3 separate regions of the Homo sapiens genome follow, and all the other regions are linked to region 1. The links are contacts of gene promoters, found by promoter capture Hi-C in human tissues and cell types (Jung and others, 2019). All regions are on one chromosome and are shown on one strand. Each heading gives the region's core, a stretch centred on a gene start or on the middle of the fragment in contact. The rest is flanking DNA. Distances are from core to core; before and after follow the strand shown. Region 1 holds the start of ERGIC3 (ERGIC and golgi 3). Region 2 overlaps CPNE1 (copine 1). Region 3 overlaps CEP250 (centrosomal protein 250).

Evidence for each region. Contacts are between HindIII fragments. The study calls those that stand out against the background at their distance.
Region 2: a fragment that was not itself captured here is called in contact with the fragment with the promoter of ERGIC3 in region 1 in 13 of the 25 tissues and cell types used here (H1 embryonic stem cells, adrenal gland, aorta and 10 more).
Region 3: a fragment that was not itself captured here is called in contact with the fragment with the promoter of ERGIC3 in region 1 in 9 of the 25 tissues and cell types used here (H1 embryonic stem cells, IMR-90 fibroblasts, bladder and 6 more).

Annotation. Positions count from the first base shown.
Region 1 is chr20:35,540,736-35,543,444 of GRCh38, forward strand. It overlaps ERGIC3 (ERGIC and golgi 3), which reads left to right and starts at 1,343. Exons shown (of 13, transcript NM_015966.3): 1 at 1,343-1,450; 2 at 1,588-1,658; 3 at 1,778-1,865; 4 at 2,087-2,206. The coding sequence starts at 1,363. RefSeq lists an enhancer at 1,015-1,104. The HindIII fragment of the contact is 35,337 bases long and covers 1-2,709 here.
Region 2 is chr20:35,643,736-35,646,444 of GRCh38, forward strand. The region is part of intron 1 of CPNE1 (copine 1); the gene reads right to left. Among named protein-coding and RNA genes, the nearest start is that of CPNE1, 20 kb to the right of the region's middle. The HindIII fragment of the contact is 5,383 bases long and covers 1-2,709 here.
Region 3 is chr20:35,474,367-35,477,075 of GRCh38, forward strand. CEP250 (centrosomal protein 250) reads left to right here. Exons shown (of 35, transcript NM_007186.6): 15 at 1,136-1,280; 16 at 2,083-2,229. CEP250-AS1 (CEP250 antisense RNA 1) reads right to left here. Exons shown (of 3, transcript NR_184017.1): 3 at 1-2,309. Among named protein-coding and RNA genes, the nearest start is that of CEP250-AS1, 15 kb to the right of the region's middle. The HindIII fragment of the contact is 3,045 bases long and covers 1-2,709 here.

The sequences.
Region 1 (2,709 bases), core at 93-2,592:
GTGAGCCATTGTGCCCAGCCCAATTTTTAATTAAAAAATGGAATGATGGAATGCACATTACTTTGCATCTTTTCCCCCTTAAAAATACATTCTTAGTATACCTAAAGGAGTAAATCTACCTCATTCTTTTGAAAAGTGGCCTAATATTCCATAGAATGGGTGTATCGTGATTTATTCAATTTATTTAATGTATCAGTGGGCATTCTGGCTGGTTCCAGATTTTTGCCATTGAACAATCTCATGCATACATCTTTATGATGTGGTGCACTTAAAATCTTTAAGAGACAGATTCAATATCTTAAGGTGTAACAACCACCCAGATCATGGTACTTTTATCCTTATATTAAAATTTTTTTCTGTTAACCTTGGATAGCTGCTTACATATTTTTTCTTTTTCAAAATTTTTCTATTAACCTTGACATGGTGCTTTTACTTCCTAAAGTGGAATTCCTGTATGAAAGCCTATGAGCTTTTATATCTTACTCATTGCAGCTGCATTACTGTGGGAGCTGTCCCTCTAGAGACACTGGGCTGCAATGGGAAGTGTCAGGGAGAGCTTAAGCTCCATATCACTTGAGTCTAAACCTGGAGGGATAGAGCGTGTCCGTGAGGATCCCAGGGCCTGGAGAGCAATTTAGGGTAATATTCAGAAAGCAGCGCTCAGGAGAAGCACTGGGACGCTGTTTAGGTAAAATCAACCCAAAAGACCCTGATTCCCAGAGTACTTTGAGGTCCAGAAGAACTGGGCTGGAAGCAGGTCCTGCTATTAATTGGCTGTGATCTTGGGCAAGTTATTTAACTTCTCCAGGTCACAGTTTGCTCTTTGGAAAACGGAGATAAGTCACACCTGCTTTCAGGGCGGACACCCTTACTTTACATCAGAATCATCCGATGCCATTCCTAGCGTTTCGGCTTCAGTAGGTGGGAATCAATTATTTGCATTTCTAATAGGTAATCAGTTGATAATGATGCGGCCGGTCCGGTACACTCGAAAAACCACTGTTCCAGGATATTCCAAGATGTTCCAAGAGTCTTAAACACCTGGTGCAGTTCCGAGCACAAGGCACACGAACGGTGCTATTAGCGTTTCTAACCCCGCAGAGAACTCCTCGCACCCCAGTCCTCAAAATCCCGCCCCGGACAGCGGAGGCCGGGGCAGTAGCTTCCAGACCCAATTGCCCGCGCAAGGGGGCGTGGCAGCATCGTTGGGCGGGGCCGCCTGTAAGAGAACGCGGCTAAAGGTGGGGCCAAGCGTGCGGTTTGCTGCGCCTGCGTGAGGAAAAAGAGGGGGGCGTGGCTCCAGGCCGGAAGAGGGAGTCTGTAGGGGCGGGCCGGCTGGCGTCCCCTTTCCGGCCGGTCCCCATGGAGGCGCTGGGGAAGCTGAAGCAGTTCGATGCCTACCCCAAGACTTTGGAGGACTTCCGGGTCAAGACCTGCGGGGGCGCCACCGGTAGGCCGCAGCGGGGCCGGGGTCGCGTGGAGGGGGGCGTCCTAGAGCTTAGCCCGGGCTCCTGGACTCTGACTGGCCTGCCGGTGTCTGAGGGAGCGGATTCGAGGCCATTCTGACCCTCGCCCCTTGTCCTGCAGTGACCATTGTCAGTGGCCTTCTCATGCTGCTACTGTTCCTGTCCGAGCTGCAGTATTACCTCACCACGGAGGTAAGGGGCGGGGCTTAGTGCGTGGGCGGGGCTTGGCATTCTAGGAGTAGGACCTTTAGGGGTGGGAGTGGGGAAGGAGAGGTTTGGGGCTAAGTCTTACTGAGGTAGCGCTGCCCCAGGTGCATCCTGAGCTCTACGTGGACAAGTCGCGGGGAGATAAACTGAAGATCAACATCGATGTACTTTTTCCGCACATGCCTTGTGCCTGTGAGTACCTCACCATGGGTGGGACTGGAGAGACCCAGGGTTCTCATGTGGGCTGCCAGATTCACACCTCCACCCTTAGGTTCTGGACTGGACCCCAGGACAACCTCCTTCTCCTCATCCCGTTCTGCCCCAAGACAGGCCCAGTATCCCCTTCCCCTCCAAAACCCACATCCCCTTGTCCCTAGGGTCCCAGTACCTTAGCCTGATTTTCCTGCTTCCAGATCTGAGTATTGATGCCATGGATGTGGCCGGAGAACAGCAGCTGGATGTGGAACACAACCTGTTCAAGCAACGACTAGATAAAGATGGCATCCCCGTGAGCTCAGAGGCTGAGCGGCATGGTAACCAGGGGAGGGGGCCGGGTCTCAGATCCCAAAGCTGGATGTACCCAAGCCTATCTGCTAGCAAGTGAACTGTGGCAGGCATAGTGATACATTAAACAACTAAGAGCTAGAGAAGTCAAGTGACTTGCCTAGGGTCCCCCAGCTAGTAAGAGTCAGAGTGAGCTAAAATCCTCTATACATATCGAGTCAGGTAATCTACCTGGCTATTATTCTCAGAGGTCCTCAATACCTGCAGATGGTAGTTTGAATACCAGAGGTTTGAAGATAGGTCTTATGTGCTCTTGCCTTGGTAGAACTGTCTAGATGGACCCAGGCTTCTTTGAGTGTTTGCTTTCCCAGCCCATTGGCTTAATTCAGCCCTTAATGCTCTTCCCCTTTGGAATGCAGGTGGTTTAATGAGAATTTAGGTTCTCAAGTCAGATTGCCTGGGTTCACATCTAGCTTTGTCTCCTGCAGTCTGTGAGCTTCAGCTAGAAAGTGGTAATAAAACAGTAGTACCA
Region 2 (2,709 bases), core at 96-2,595, 100 kb after region 1:
ACAAAAAAACAACAAAGTAAGTTCAGGTCCCCCTCTGCAATCATAAGCTTGACCGTGGAGGCCAAGAAGCCCTACCAATAGGTAAGGGCCCTCCACACTATAGTTGGAGTTGGCAAACTGAAAAGGCTCCTTCCCCAGCAGCTCAGAATCCATGACAGAAGACTGCTGCCAGTGGCCTCCCACTTTCCCTAAAAGTCAGGGAGGGGCTGGGGATAGTTGAGGGAGGGTTTCTACCTGAGGAGTCATACAAGCATCCATGATTAAAACATCTTTGTTTTCCCCTTACTATTAATTATTTTTCTCTGCCTGGATTACCCCACCTGTAAAGTAGGGATGATAATGTTAACTTTACAGTGTTATTTGTGAGGATTACATGAGGACAGTCATAGAAAGTATCCCCTGCCCGGCACAGAGTAAGTACCCAGTGTCAACTGTCCCTGTAGGTGCTCACAAACAGGGAAGTGCACCTTTGGGTCCTTCTGCAGTATCATTAACTCCTTCTTGGTTAATTGGACCAAGGAGGAGTGGATCCAGGAGGAATGCCTCTGGTCTACCTGCTCCAGGATATAACTAGCAGGACAGGGACAGCCCCCAAAAGGAGAGATGAAGACTCTTCCCCTTTGAATTTCTCAAGCTGCAGTGTAGAATCACTACCACACTAGGGAAACCAGGAGAGCAGTACCCAGATCAAAATTTGGAGCTCCATTCCTGGTCACTTTAGTTTAAGGTCCAAACTCAGTACAGATTTCCAGAAACCGAATGGCTAGGTTCATACAATCACAGAAGCTTAAAACTGGACACAAGCTTATCTAATTTAATCCCATACTGTAAAAGAAACACTGAGGCCAGAGGGAAATAATCTGTCCTAAGTCACATAACTGATGGAACCACGAACCGATTCTGAGAATGTTATTTCTATATCCAACCATTTTAGCAACAGTTCACATTTTGTAATTCACCCCAATCTGAAATCTACCCTGCCACTACAACAGCAGTGAGACTCACATGGTCTCCCCTCATGATCTATGCTAATGTTAGCCTTGCACAAACATGGAATATAATTCTCCCTATTTGTCTGACTGCTGGGGAAGGAAGGTAGGAAATCCTGGACTCCACATTTACAGGAGTTGATCAAAGGAATAAATTTTAAGTAGCAAGCATGCATAGTGCAAATAAGGTAGAACTCACCTCTAAAAAATGTGATCTGTATCAAAATTTTCAAAGGACATCTATAGGGTAGTCAATTCTGCCCCCATCCCTCCCGGCTGAAATCTACATTCTTTTAATGTCTATCACCTGTGGGGTGTCTGAGACAACAGTACTATACCGCCTTCCTGATGATCTCCAGGACTGAGGCATCACCAAATACCTGTGCATCTACAGTGTGCACAAAAGGAGTGTATATCTCCTACAGCACAAAATGAGATGAGTAAATGAACAAAAGCAGACCAGAGCTCTTGGAAAAGAAACCTACCTATTGTTCATAATGCAAGCCCCTTACCCTTCACTGGAATAAATTCATTTGGGACACTGGGGAGAGTTTAAGATGGGTCTTCAGAATTTACATGTTAGGGAAGCCGAGAAAGCAAAGGAATATTTCAACAACAGGAAACTACACTATGACAAAGACTAGTTTACACTTGTTCCTGTCTAACCATAACTTAGCAAATGGCCAGGAAAGCCACTACCTGGTTCCCGTGGTATAGGAATGTACCTAGTATAAGCACAACCAAGCACTTAGTTGTGACTTAAAACCCTCAACTGTTGAAGAACAGGAACCTTATTTTGCTTTTCCACCAAAGTATAAGTGCTGGGTGCACACCACTGCAAAAATCTGTTAGTATGAGATACAGCTATGGCTAAGCTGTACATTCATGTGAAGTTGTCTTAAAAGCTTGAAGGTGACAGGTGCTTCCAATTCCAATCTGTCAATTCAATGGTCATAGAAGTAAAGCAGCTCATCTACATCAGTAATTAGTAGTTGCATTAATGTCCATCACTTCAGTCAGAGTTACAGCACAGGGACCCTACTGGTCCCACAGGCCAAACCACAGAAGGGAGTTATGTATAAAGGCTGGGCCACTCTCCAGCCCCCACTGCAATCTAATGTGTGGAGTATAGTGGAGTGTGGCATTAACAAACTTCCAAGTGGGATCACAGAAAAATCAAGGCAATCAGAGGCACTGGTACCAGTTGGTGTGATTTAAAACCTTTTAAGAAACTGAGGCCAGGCATAGTGGCTCACACCTGTAATCCCAGCACTTTGAGAGGCCAAGGCGGGAGCATCACTTGAGCCCCGGAGTTCAAGACCGGCCTGAGCCACATAGTGAAACTACCCCTCCACTCCACCATCACCCCTACCCCAGCAATTACCTCATCTCTACAAAAAAATTAAAAAAAAAAAAAAATAGCTACTTAGGAGGCTGAAGCAGGATTGCTTGAGCCCAGGACATCGAGGTTACAGTGAGCTGACTGTACCACTGCACTCCAGCCTGGGCAGCAGAGCAAGACCATCTCAAAAAAAAAAAAAAAAAAAAAAAAAAGAAACAAAAAAACTATTTAACCCTCTTAAATCCTTCCCACTGTGTGACTTGTGGTGTAGCACAATGTGGTTGTTATCATTTGATATGAAGCACAAACTCTAAGTGACAAGGCTTTTTTTTTTTTTTTTTGAGACAGGGTCTTGCTATGTTACTCACGCTAGTCTCA
Region 3 (2,709 bases), core at 125-2,624, 66 kb before region 1:
TTAAATAGAGTTTCAGACCAAGTCCTTTGGGAGCACAGGAGTGACAGCTAATTATTGAAGACTAGGAAATGCTTTATGGAGGAGAGAGTAGACTTTGAGCTGGGCCTTTACCTATTTGGTTAGCAGAGAGTGGGAGAAGAGCTCAAGGAACAGATTAGCAAAGAAAAGGCGGCAGGAAGGTTCATGGCATGTTCAGAGTAGGCTGGGCTGGCTAAAGGGTAAGACTTATACAGGGAAGTAGTGGGAAATGTGCTAGCTGGTCAAGAAAGGGAAATCCAGAATCAATGGCCCCAGCTAATCTGTAAATTCCCCTATATGATGTCACAGAAAAAGCAAGGACTTTGAGCTAGGCAGAAGCTTAGTTTAAATTATGGCTCTGTCACATGGACAGATTATTTGTAGAATGATGATAATATTTACCTTGAAGGGTTGCTGGGAAGATGAGAGCAATGTTTTGGAAAACGCCAGCATAGAACCTGGCATATGGTAGGTCTTTAATAACTGGGAGCAGGGATATATCTTCATCTTTGCTGTATTTCCCTCCTCTCCTGTGCCCCAGTTCCTTGTACCTGGTAGGCATGAATAGTGGAAGCTTGAAGGGCTGCCATAAGGGTCATGACTTGTGCTAAGAATGATCTCCCTGTACCAAGGAGAAGGGCAGACAACCCCTAACAACAAAAAATTAGCTGTAGCTGAATGTGGTGGCATGTGCCTGTAGCCATGGCAAGGTGAGATGGGAGGATCACATGAGCCCCCAGGAGTTTGAGGCTTCAGTGAGCTAAGAAGATACACAGAGAAGTCTCACTCTCATTTGTGCTTTCTCCATCCCATTTCCCTTCCCCCTTTAGGCAACCATTTTAGCTGACTTCTTGTTTATCTTGCCAGTGCTCCTTCATGCAAATACGGGCATATATTCTTTCTTCCCCCACTTTCTTGCATAAAAGGTAGTGTATCATGTATATACTGTTCTGCACCTTGATTTTTTTCACTTGACATGTCTTAGAAATCTTTCCTTATCAGTGTTTATAGACCATCCTCATTCTGTTGCATAGCAAAGGTGATTATATTCCTGTTACCTTTGGGGTTATGGCCCATCCCTAAGAGTTCCTCTAGACCCCTCTCTTTCCCATCTTAGTCAGGAGATGCTGATGGGCCTGGAAGCCAAACAGTCAGAATCACTCAGTGAACTGATCACTCTTCGGGAAGCCCTGGAGTCAAGTCACCTGGAAGGGGAGTTACTGAGGCAAGAGCAAACGGAAGTGACCGCAGCGCTGGCTAGGGTGCGTGGCCTCCTCTCCTCACTTGCTGGGTGGGCGGCTTCGAAAGTGTGTTCCCATGCAGCCTGCCTCATTCTTCACCTTCAAGCCAGGATCCCTCATCTTTCCTCAATCATTAGTCTGCTTCTGGGTTCTCTATTCCAACATACCCTCTATATTGGAATTAGAATGGGCTTTCTAAAGTATATACCTGGTTATGTCAGTCTCTTAAAACCATTCAACGGCTTTCTAGCTCTGTGGTGCCACATTCAAAGCTTTTTGTCATGTGCCTCAAAGTGTGTTTTAGCCTCCCCTTCTACTGCAAAACCCATCCTAACACCTCATATCCTTTGCTCCTGCCACAGCAGTAATTGCCTTCTCAGTTATTCCATGTTCTTCATGACTCTAATACTCTGCGTGTACTTTTCCCTTTCTCTGCACTACTTCTTTCCTCTTCCTTTATGTGCAAACTGTTCCTCATCTCTCAGTACACAACTTAATCGTCAACTCCTCTACCAAGCATATTTGACTCTTCCAAACTATATTAATATTTTTTTTAGTTCCCAGAGCACTTTGTGCTTACATTTTCTGTGGCATCATTACAATCATAGTCATTTCTCTATCCTAACTTTGGTATCTCTATACTGTGAGGTCCTGTCTCACTCCTTAATGAATGAATGAAGGGAAAACTTGTTTAGAATGCAGGAGAGGGAATGGAGTATTAACTGATCTCTGTACCAAAAAGCAGCAGTGTTGGGAATGTGAACTGTTTACTGTTCCAGGAAAATTGGAAATATGAAACTCTTTAATCCTTTTTGTTTTTTAGGCAGAGCAGTCAATTGCAGAGCTGTCGAGTTCTGAAAACACCCTGAAGACAGAAGTAGCTGATCTTCGGGCTGCAGCTGTCAAGCTCAGTGCCTTAAATGAGGCTTTGGCGTTAGATAAAGTTGGGCTGAACCAGCAGCTTCTCCAGGTGAGCAAAGATTTTCCTGGTCCCCACAGAAGGGCTGGGCCCTAACTGAGAGCAAGACGGATCAGCTCCCAAATGTAGGTCTGAAATGAGCAAAAGGAACATTTACAATGCAGAGGAGAGCAAAGACTGTAAGGATTGGGCTTAGCCATTATAAATATTCCCCTCCCACACCTCCAGCAGAACCACCTCTGGACTTCAGGGTAAGACACCAAGGTTGGGAAGGGGCCCATGTCCTCTGGAAGGAAGACTAGGTTTTTTGCTGGGGTTTTCTTGAGATGGATCTCCCTCTGTCACCTAGGCTGGAGTGCAGTGGTGCGATCTTAGCTAACTGCAGTTTTCATCTCCTGGGTTCAAGCAATTCTCCTGCCTCAGCCTCCTGAGTAGCTGGGATTACAGGCATGTGTCACCACACCTGGCTAATTTTTTTTTTTTGAGATGGAGTTTTGCTCTTGTTGCCCAGGCTGGAGTACAGTGGCACGA